Linked DNA regions of Homo sapiens: region 1 is linked to region 2. Evidence: promoter capture Hi-C in human tissues and cell types (Jung and others, 2019). All regions are on one chromosome and are shown on one strand. The core of a region is centred on a gene start or on the middle of the fragment in contact, and the rest is flanking DNA. Distances in the headings are between cores, read along the strand shown. Region 1 holds the start of ERBB3 (erb-b2 receptor tyrosine kinase 3). Region 2 holds the start of PMEL (premelanosome protein).

Region 1 (5,619 bases), core at 3,090-5,589, 110 kb after region 2:
GGCGAGGGGCTGACCCCCCCATCTCCCTCCCGGATGGGGTGGCTGCCGGGCGGAGACTCTCCTCACTTCCCAGATGGGGTGGCTGCCGGGCGGAGAGGCTCCTCACTTCTCAGACGGGGCAGCTGCCGGACGGAGGGGCTCCTCACTTCTCAGACGGGGTGGTTGCCAGGCAGAGGGTCTCCTCACTTCTCAGACGGGGCGGCCGAGCAGAGACGCTCTTCACCTCCCAGACGGGGTCGCTGCCGGGCAGAGGCGCTCCTCATATCCCAGATGGGGCGGCGGGGCAGAGGCGCTCCCCACATCTCAGACAATGGGCGGCCGGGCAGAGACGCTCCTCACTTCCTAGATGTGATGGCGGCCGGGAAGAGGCGCTCCTCACTTCCTAGATGGGATGGCGGCAGGGCGGAGACGCTCCTCACTTTCCAGACTGGGCAGCCAGGCAGAGGGGCTCCTCACATCCCAGACGATGGGCGGCCAGGCAGAGACACTCCTCACTTCCCAGACGGGGTGGCGGCCGGGCAGAGGCTGCAATCTCAGCACTTTGGGAGGCCAAGGCAGGCGGCTGGGAGGTGTAGGTTGTAGTGAGCCGAGATCACGCCACTGCACTCCAGCCTGGGCACCATTGAGCACTGAGTGAACGAGACTCCGTCTGCAATCCCGGCACCTCGGGAGGCCGAGGCTGGCGGATCACTCGCGGTTAGGGGCTGGAGACCGGCCCGGCCAACACAGCGAAACCCCGTCTCCACCAAAACCAGTCAGGCGTGGCGGCGCGTGCCTGCAATCGCAGGCACTCGGCAGGCTGAGGCAGGAGAATCAGGCAGGGAGGTTGCAGTGAGCCGAGATGGCAGCAGTACAGTCCAGCTTCGGCTCCGCATGAGAGGGAGACCGTGGAAAGAGAGGGAGACCGTGGGGAGAGGGAGAGGGGGAGGGGGAGGGGGAGGGGGAGGGACCAATCAACAGTCTTATAAGTAGATACAACAGTGTATAAACAAGGAAACCAAGGAAGATTTTTCTCCTTCAGAACTCGGACCCTGAATACCAGGTTGAGCTGGAGCTGAGTGAGTAATAAAATGAAAGGCCCTTTAATGTGGGGGAGGGTAGGTAGGAGTGGAGACCCTTAAGTAGTATCAGCACTGTTGTCTGATGGGAGTGTGAATCTGAACACATGAAGCTCCAGTCTCAGTAGAACAGTAAGAAATCCTAAGTAAGGCCAGGCATGGTTCACATCTGAAATCCTAACAATTTGGGTAAACTGAGGTGGAAGGATTGCAGAGGCCAGGAGTTCAAGACCAGCTTGGGCAACATAGCCAGACCCCCACCCCCACCCCCGCATCTCCATATCATACAAAAATAATAAAGAAATCCTAGGTAAGGCCAGATGGTAAGGCCAGGTGTGGTGGCTCATGCCTGTAATCCCAGCACTTTGGGAGGCCGAGGTGGGTGGATTGCCCAAGGTCAGGAGTTCAAGACCAGCTTGGTCAACACAGTGAAACCCCGTCTCTACTAAAAATACAAAAATTAGCTAGGTGTTGTGGCAGGCACCTGTAATCTCAACTACTCAGGAGGCTGAGGCAGGAGAATAGCTTGAACCCAAGAGGCAGAGGTTGCAGTGAGCCAAGATCGAGCCATTGCACTCCAGCCTGGGCACCAAAAGCGAAACTCAGGAGAATGCCTTGAACCCAGGAGGCAGAGGTTGCAGTGAGCTGAGATCACGCCATTGCACTCCAGCCTGGGTGACAGAGCGAGACTCCATCTCAAAAACAAACAAACAAATAAACAAAGTAGCCAGACATTTTGGTGCCCACCTGTAGACTCAGTTACTAGGGAGGCTGAAGTGGGAGAATCACCTGAGCCTGGGAAGTTGAGGCTGCTGTGAGCCATGATTGCACCACTGCACTCCAGCCTGGGTGACAGAGGGAGATCCTGTCTCAAAAAAAGGAAAAAAAGCCAGGTGTGGTGGCTCACACCTGTAATCCCAGCACTTTGGGAGGCTGAGGTGGGTGGATCACCTGAGGTCAGGAATTAGAGACTAGTCTGGCCATCACAGTGAAACCCCATCTCTACTAAAAATACAAAAAATTAGCCGGGCTTGGTGGCGCACGCCTTGTAGCCCCAGCTACTTGGAAGCCTGAGGCAGGAGAATCACTTGAACTCAGTAGTGAGCTGAGATCAGGCCACTGCACTCCAGCCTGGGTGACAGAAACAGAACAAGATTCCGTGTCAAAAAAAAAAAAGCAACAGACCAGAAGGCCATGAGGTCAAACAAAACAATGTTTTGTTTTTGTTTTGAGATGGCGTCTCACTCTGTCGCCCAAGCTGGAGTGCAGTGATGCAATCTCAGCTCACTGCAACCTCCACCTCCCGGGTTCAAGCGATTCTCCTGCCTCAGTCTCCTAAGTAGCTGGGATTACAGGTGCCCACCATCATGCCCAGCTAATTTTTGTATTTTTAGTAGAGACGGTGTTTCACTATGTTGACTAGGCTGGTCTCGAACTCCTGACCTCAAGTGATCTGCCCGCCTCGGCCTCCCAAAGTGCTGGGATTACAGGCATGAGCCACCGCGCCCAGCCGAATGTTTTGTTTTTTAAGATGGAAGATATCCCAGCACTTTGGCAGGCTGAAGCAGGTGGATCATTCCAGCTTGGGCAACAAGAGCGAAACTCTGTCTCAAAAAAAAAAAAAAAGAAAAGAAAAAAAAAGAGAGAAAGAAACCCTAGGTAAAAGTCTGAGCCCCACCTCCCAATCACCTGATCACCTCAACCACTGTCACCAGGTGGATGACCTTGGAGAGGTCACACACTTCTAGTTCTGTAAAATGGGGAGTTATATTGCCTAAATCATATAATTTTTATGTTAAGTGACACATTCTCTAAGGCACTAAGTTTGAGGACATACTTTGTAAATGAAATGATATATGGAAATGTTTGTATATGTTAATGGTTTTGTTGTTGCTATTATTATTATGACTACTATACACATGGTCTGGAGAAAGCCAACCTCCCCAAAGCGGAGATTCTCCAGTAGAGAACAGGCCCTCTAGGTTGCATATCAATAGGGAGCATGTTTAAGGAATGTTAGCCGGTAGTCTTTGCTAGGTGTGAGGGGTGAAATTTTTCTTTATCAAGGCTCAACTGTTTTCGAAGTCTTCAGGCTTGAAGTTCTGGAGAAAACAACTAGGCTCTCCGGGCGAGATCCCGAATACCAGTTTAAGGGATTTGAAATGCAAGGCCGTCTGGGACTCCACTGCCACGGATGGGCACCAGGCGGCGCCGGTCGGATCCGTCCCGGGACTAGCAGGGCTTTGGGCAGCAACCCGCAGGGAGCCCGACCGCCTCTGGCCAGGTCCGGGCAGCTGGTGGGGGAGGTTCCAGAGGTCCACGCCATTCGTGGACGCAGTCTCTAGTGTCCTCTCCGCGTCCCACTTCACTGCCCCATCCCCTTTCCTGCGAGAGCCTGGACTTGGAAGGCACCTGGGAGGGTGTAAGCGCCTTGGTGTGTGCCCATCTGGGTCCCCAGAAGAGCGGCGGGAACTGCGGCCGCCCGGACGGTGCGGCCAGACTCCAGTGTGGAAGGGGAGGCAGCTGTTCTCCCAGGCGGCCGTGGGGGGCAGCAGAGGGGACGGCGACAGGTGCGGGAGCCCCTCCCGGGGTAGAAGTGGAAAGGCGGGCTCCGGGGTCTGTTCCCAGGCTGGAAACCACCCCCGCCCCCCATCCAAATCCCCGGGAGAGGCCCGGCCGGCGCCGGGTCTGGAGGAGGAAGCGGCCAGAGACAGTGCAATTTCACGCGGTCTCTGTGGCTCGGGTTCCTGGGCTGGGTGGATGAATTATGGGGTTTCGAGTCTGGGAGAAACTGAGGTGGCCTGGACGTGAGGCAAAAAACACCCTCCCCCTCAAAAACACACAGAGAGAAATATTCACATTCTGAGAGAAAATCCACCAAGTGAACCAACCGGCTAGGGGAGTTGAGTGATTTGGTTAATGGGCGAGGCCAACTTTCAGGGGGCAGGGCTTTGGAGAGCTTTCCACTCCCTCATTCATTACCCTTCCCTGGATCTGGGGGCTTTCGGAATCTCGACCTCCCCTTGGCCTATCTCCTGCAGAAAAATTAGGGTGAGCCCCATCCTCGATCTGCTCCGCCAAGTTGCGGGACCGCGGGGCGTGGCACGCTCGGGGCAGGCGGTCCGAGGCTCCGCAATCCCTACTCCAGCCTCGCGCGGGAGGGGGCGCGGCCGTGACTCACCCCCTTCCCTCTGCGTTCCTCCCTCCCTCTCTCTCTCTCTCTCACACACACACACCCCTCCCCTGCCATCCCTCCCCGGACTCCGGCTCCGGCTCCGATTGCAATTTGCAACCTCCGCTGCCGTCGCCGCAGCAGCCACCAATTCGCCAGCGGTTCAGGTGGCTCTTGCCTCGATGTCCTAGCCTAGGGGCCCCCGGGCCGGACTTGGCTGGGCTCCCTTCACCCTCTGCGGAGTCATGAGGGCGAACGACGCTCTGCAGGTGCTGGGCTTGCTTTTCAGCCTGGCCCGGGGCTCCGAGGTGGGCAACTCTCAGGCAGGTAAGTGGCGCGAGAGCACCGGCGGGCTCGGCACCTGGGAGCCGGAACCCAGTGCGCGCAGCCTCGGAGGGTATGGGCACGGTCTCAGGCGGCGCGGGGTTGTGGGTGCTGCCCCCGGTTTGCCAGGACCACCTGGGAGAGGGGCGGTCAGGCTCGGGTTATCGGCGTGGTCCGGCCGAGGGCGGCATTCCGGGACCCTCACGCCACCCTTCTCCAGAGCGTCGCCGACCCTCTAATTGGTCTCCCCAGAAGAGGCTGAGGCCGAAACAGTAGTTCACACTTCTGAGGGGCCCTGCAGGGAGGGGAGCAGGGAACTTCATTCTGTAAACAGGAGGTGCTTGGAGGTGGGGGCCTTGGCGGGAAGGGTCTCGGTTTGCTCGCCAACCCCCTGCCCCCCACCCGCGCCGATTTCAGCTACCCCTAGTTTCGTTGTTTTGCCGACAGGGCGGAGCTACAGAAGGTTGGAGGGGGTTGTTGTTCTCTGGTGTTGGAAAAACAGGAGCGGCACCTCCTCTTCCGTGAGTGAGCCTGCCCTGGGGAGGTCTGAGATTAACCAGAGGGCCAAGTTCAGGTGACATCAGGCAGGAGGCCCAACAGAGGCTGGCGCCCCCTTTCCTCAGTATAGCAGAGCTTAAGCAACATCTCTTTGTCAAGACCCAGGTCAACACAACTCATATTTATTGAGCATCTACTATACACAAGGCCCTGGGCCAGGAGCTGTAAGGGCAAGGATGTCCAGCCTCTGGTCTTTTCTCTCCCCAACCTGAGGATCAAGAGGGCACCTCTGCTACTTTCTAAGCCTCCTGCCTTGGGGAGTCCTTCCTGGGCTCAGCTTGTGCCTCCCGCCCCCATTTTGCTTATTGTCTGACACTGTCTCTAGGACCCTAGACAGAGCCCCGGATTGCTCTTCTCCAGTCCTCCCCCGACTCCCATGCTATCTGAGCCCACCCCTTTGGGGTGTCTCTGGGACCGTGGACACCTGAGGACTGAAGTTCTGTGGATCTCCTCCCCTCCCCTCAGATCTCAGCTTGGGGTTTGGCACAGCCAGGGCCCCTTCCCCAG
Region 2 (5,427 bases), core at 1,293-3,792:
CTTGCATAAGCACAATGTCATTTCATGCTAGACAAAATTATCAAACTCAGTCCATATAAAATTTCATGAATATCTGGAAAAATGTCTTATGATTTTTAAAATCAGGATCCAAAATATAAGTACAGTCTTTTTGTTAAGAGCCTTAGGTGGGTGGGTGTGAACAGACTCTTTCCAGGATACATTAAGGAATATAGTAAAAGAAAAAGACTTGAAACTGCAGCACAGCGAGGAAAGTCACATCAAGGAGAACTTCCTAGAAATCTGTGACACTAAACATCTAGGGAGAAAGCAGGGCTGGGATATAATGTATGTATTTCAGCACAGCAGAAACTACCCTCACCCCATTTTTCCCTTTCCTGCAGAAACCTCTCTCCCCTCCCCTTCCCTCCCCTCTCCTCTCCTTTCTGTATATAGTTCAGCACAGCAAAAACTACCCTCACCCCATTTTTCCCTTTCCTGCAGAAACTTCCTTCCCTTTCCTTTCCCTTTCCCCTTTCCTTTCCTTTTGATACAGGGTTTTGCTCTCTCACCCTGCGTGCAGTGGCACGTTCATCACTCACTGCAGCCTCAAACTCCTAGGCTGAAGCCATCTTCCTCATTAGCCTCCCAAGTGGCTAGGACCACAGGTGCTCACCACCAAGCCTGGCTAATTTTTTTTTTTTTTTTTTTTGAGACAGAGTTTCGCTCTTGTTGCCCAGGCTGGAAGGCTGGAGTACAATGGCACGATCTCAGCTTACTACAACCTCCGCCTCCCGGGTTCAAGCGATTCTCCTGCCTCAGCCTCCTGAGTGGCTGGGATTACAGGCATGCACCACCACGCCCAGCTAATTTTGTATTTTTAGTAGAGACTGGGTTTCTCTATGTTGGTCAGGCTGGTCTCAAACTCCCAACTTCAGCTGATCCACCTGCCTTGGTCTCGCAAAGTGCTGGGATTACAGGCGTGAGCCACCAAGCCTGGCCTAGGCCTGGCTAATTTTTTTACGTTTCGTAGAGACAAGGTCTCACTATGTTGCTCAGGCTGGTCTTGAACTCCTGGGCTCAAGCAATCCTATGACCACGGCCTCCCAAAGTGCTGGGATTACAGGTGTGAGCCACTACACCCGGCCTCCTTATCTCTTTTCTTTTCTTTTCTTTTTTTATTTTTTTGAGACAGAGTCTTGCTGTTGCCCAGGCTGGAATGCAATGGTGTGATCTCGGCTCACTGCAACCTCTGCCTCCCAGGTTCAAGCGATTCTCATGCCTCGGCCTCCCAAGTAGTTGGGATTACAGGTGCGTACCACCATGCCCAGCTAATTTTTGTATTTTTAGTAGAGATGGAGTTTCACCATATTGGCCAGGCTGGTCTGACCTCAAGTGATCCACCCGTCTCAGCCTCTCAAAGTGCTAGGATTACAGGCATGAGTTACTGTGCCGGGCCTCATCCCCTTTCTTTTTTTTTTTTTTTTTGAGACGGAGACTCGCTCTGTCACCCAGGCTGGAGTGCATTGGTGTGATCTTGGCTCACTGCAACCTCTGCCTTCTGGGTTCAAGTGATTCTCCAGCCTCAGCCTTCTGAGTAGCTGGGACTACAGGCATGTGCCACCATGCCCAGCTAATTTTTGTACTTTTAGTAGAGACGGGGGTTTCACCATATTGGCCAGGCTGGTCTCGAACTCCTGACCTCGTGATCCACCTGCTTCAGCCTCCCAAAGTGCTGGGATTACAGGCGTGAGCCACGGCGCCCGGCCTCATTCCCTTTCTAATGTGTGCTGTAACCCTAGTTGATTCTGCTGGGGGAGGATCTGGAATCATCTATTGAGCATCCCACCACTAGAACAAGAGAAGTCATAAGATACCCCATTCTTTCTCCACTTCCAACTCTCCTCAGAGCAGCACGGGACATTCCAGACCCTCTCACCACCCCACCCCCGCCCCTTGCTCCTGTCACGAGGCCCAATCCCCCAGAGCCCTTTCATGTGATGCTCAGCTGAGACCCCTCTGCCTATCTCTCCAGCCCCAGAACAAAAGGTCTGGGCTGTGTTCACCCGTACCCATCCCAAGAGGAGAGGATTGTATCTCCTTAGTGTTCTTACCCAATACCACATTCTCTGACTCCCCACTTTAAATCTCCTACCCCAAGAGACGTTTCCTAAAAGAGTCTCCTGCACATTTCACCCCTTTGGAGCCCGTGCTCCAGCTCACTGCCAAGGAAGCCTCAGAATCAGTGCCACAGAGACCTTCTATCCTTCTGCCCCTCCAAGCATATGAGATTATTTTCAGGCAAAATCCCAAATCTCCATGTAGGGAGGGAGCCCAGGTGCCCACATCCTCACTAAATCAAATGAGTGGGAGACGCCTGAAATATTGCCGCTATCTCCCATTAGGAGGACAGAAACCAGAGCAGGGGGAATTCATCCCCAAGTTCACACCTGCTCATGTCCACATATCCACACATACCTTTTGTAGCCCCCACAGCCAGCAAAGCACCTATCACAGCCAAATGAAGAAGGCATCTTTTTAGCACCAGATCCATTGTGTTCTTCCCTCCAGCAACCAAAGGCACTGGGGGGACTGGGATAGGCCCCTATATAAGAAAAGGGTGCTCATTTGCATAGCCCTTCCTCTTCTCCCTCAGAGAAGGCCTGGGAGGGGCCGGAGGAGAGGAAAAAGGAAAAACTGACAAAGGGATCCTGGTCCCTAGACATTGCTTTCCCATCCTGCTACTCAATGACAGTTTCTGGTTTCACTGGGTCACTCTCATCTTGATGCACTCCCGGGCAAGAGCTAACTGAAAGGCAGCTGCGTAACACATACCAGACACAACAGTTTATCATGGGAGAGTGAATTAAACCAGGAACTTCTCAAAAAGACAGAAACAGAACCCTGCATCCCAAAACAGAGACAGTGTCGGGGTATGCTATGAGGCAGAGGCAACGACTCCTCTGAGGCCCAGGATTCCTTTGCAACGAGATTCCCGGCTTCCTGGTTTCCAAAGGAGGCTCCTGGGCCAGGTGGAATTTAACCTTAGGTCGATACATATTTTCCCCAGGATTGGTGAAAATAGTGAGTTAGAAATCAAGAAATCCCTACAGACTAGAGACATAGGTAGGAAACTTGGACCCAAAGCAGGTACTTGGGAAGAGTGTTCAGCCGCCCCACCGGGGAAGAAACTTGTCTAGCCCCCAAGAACCAAACTTGCCTGGGGCGGGATCATTTGCGGGGAGGAGCGCTGGGCTCGCCCCCCGGCTCTGACGTTGACCAATAGAAAGGCCTGGGGGCGGAGCCAGGGAAACGCGGGAAGCAGGGGCGGGGCCTCTGGTGGCGGTCGGGAACTCGGTGGGAGGCGGCAACATTGTTTCAAGTTGGCCAAATTGACAAGAGCGAGAGGTATACTGCGTTCCATCCCGACCCGGGGCCACGGTACTGGGCCCTGTTTCCCCCTCCTCGGCCCCCGAGAGCCAGGGTCCGCCTTCTGCAGGGTTCCCAGGCCCCCGCTCCAGGGCCGGGCTGACCCGACTCGCTGGCGCTTCATGGAGAACTTCCAAAAGGTGGAAAAGATCGGAGAGGGCACGTACGGAGTTGTGTACAAAGCCAGAAACAAGTTGACGGGAGAGGTGGTGGCGCTTAAGAAAATCCGCCTGGACACGTGAGTGGCCTCTGTACCCGGGACTCCTAACTGGGGACCTCCTTGATTGTCCCCCCCAACCCCCCACGGGCGGGTAGCCGTCCAGGGACCGGAAGAGAGCAGGGAGGGACTTCTTTAGAAGTGGAGAGGTGGGTTGGGGGCCAGTAGAAGGTGAAGAGTATACTTATACTCCCTGGGGAGAGTATAGGGTGGTGTGGAATCCATGGAAAACTTTCTTCCCAAACTGAGCCGGATCGTGCCCCCAAATGTGCGACTACAGACTCGGGGAGAGAAAGGAGGTCTCTGAGATGAGGTCCAAGACTCTCCATGGAGTGGAGTTATGTGGGAACCGGCGAGAATCGCCTTTCTGAATGAAGAGCCCTCTTCACTGCCCCACCCTCACCTTAGAATTCTCTCCTCTTTCCAAAGAATGGCAGTTGAACCTCACTGGCCCCTCTGGGGAGGCTGGGGGCTACTCCTGCATTTTTTCCCCTCCATTACAGTCTCCCTGCTTCACCTTCACCAGGCGGCTTTACTTACCTACCCCTGGGAAAAGAGGAGATAATGGCCTTAATATATCCAAAAACCACACCCTGACTACCCAAGAATTAGCTCTTACCATCACCCTTTCTCTTCTCTCACTTTCCTAGGGGGTGCTGGGTGGTGTCTCCTTGGGGGAAAGAAATGACTAGGTGGGGGGGAAAGGAATATTTGTAACCATATTCCCATCTCTGCTTTCCCAACCTCTCCAAGTGAGACTGAGGGTGTGCCCAGTACTGCCATCCGAGAGATCTCTCTGCTTAAGGAGCTTAACCATCCTAATATTGTCAAGTAAGTATGCGTCTGAGAGGTGATCCAGCTGGAAAGGAGGATAAGTTCTGTCTGTACAGTGTGGGCATTTCTCTCTCTCACACACCTCCATTTCCTCAAACTTTCCTTCTCTAGGCTGCTGGATGTCATTCACACAGAAAATAAACTCTACCTGGTTTTTGAATTTCTGCACCAAGATCTCAAGAAATTCATGGATGCCTCTGCTCTCACTGGCATTCCTCTTCCCCTCATCAAGGTAATGCTTCTCATCAGCTCCTCTCATCATGGGCATGTCTTGGGGGACTGGTGGCAGGCAATTCAGGGTGATATTTTATGATTTTGGCCTCCTTCTGAGCCCTCATCTCCTATACACACACACTCCCCTTCTTTTTGTGTCTCCTTCCCTGCTCATTATATTCATTAACCCTAGGGTTGGACTGAACAATCAAAGTTGAAACTCTAGTGAGTCAACCTAGCAACTCAGGTGGGAGGTCAGATGAAACTCAGATAAACGGGATTTGAGAGCACTTGGTAAATTCCTCCAAAAAGCCCTTCCATTTGGTGGAAGACCTAGCTAGTGAGTCCCTATTGTCTATTTTAGGGCTGGATTCTTCACTCCCAGAGCTACTTTCAATCTATTAACAAACATTTTTTCAATGCACAGGATGTAGAAAAGGGATGGAAAATTGAGTAAGACTTGGTCCTTATCCTCTCTGGGCTGACAGTCCATTGGGAGAAATAGCTTGTAAATATGTAACTATAATCCAACATAATAAAGGCTTTAGTAGAGTTTTAGGGGCACAGAGCAAACCCAGTCTGCTCACTGTAATGGAGAAACACAGTCCTCTCTTTCTCCTTTGTCAGAGCTATCTGTTCCAGCTGCTCCAGGGCCTAGCTTTCTGCCATTCTCATCGGGTCCTCCACCGAGACCTTAAACCTCAGAATCTGCTTATTAACACAGAGGGGGCCATCAAGCTAGCAGACTTTGGACTAGCCAGAGCTTTTGGAGTCCC

The links. Contacts are between HindIII fragments. The study calls those that stand out against the background at their distance.
Region 1: the fragment with the promoter of ERBB3 here is called in contact with the fragment with the promoter of PMEL in region 2 in 2 of the 25 tissues and cell types used here (aorta and mesenchymal stem cells).

Annotation. Positions count from the first base shown.
Region 1 is chr12:56,075,826-56,081,444 of GRCh38, forward strand. ERBB3 (erb-b2 receptor tyrosine kinase 3) reads left to right here and starts at 4,340. Exons shown (of 28, transcript NM_001982.4): 1 at 4,340-4,557. The coding sequence starts at 4,476. RefSeq lists enhancers at 2,123-2,172, 3,997-4,987. The HindIII fragment of the contact is 14,559 bases long and covers 1-5,619 here.
Region 2 is chr12:55,963,500-55,968,926 of GRCh38, forward strand. PMEL (premelanosome protein) reads right to left here and starts at 2,543. Exons shown (of 11, transcript NM_001384361.1): 1 at 2,437-2,543. The coding sequence starts at 2,512. It overlaps CDK2 (cyclin dependent kinase 2), which reads left to right and starts at 3,331. Exons shown (of 7, transcript NM_001798.5): 1 at 3,331-3,625; 2 at 4,358-4,435; 3 at 4,550-4,670; 4 at 5,279-5,427. The coding sequence starts at 3,510. RefSeq lists an enhancer at 3,022-3,101. The HindIII fragment of the contact is 17,930 bases long and covers 1-5,427 here.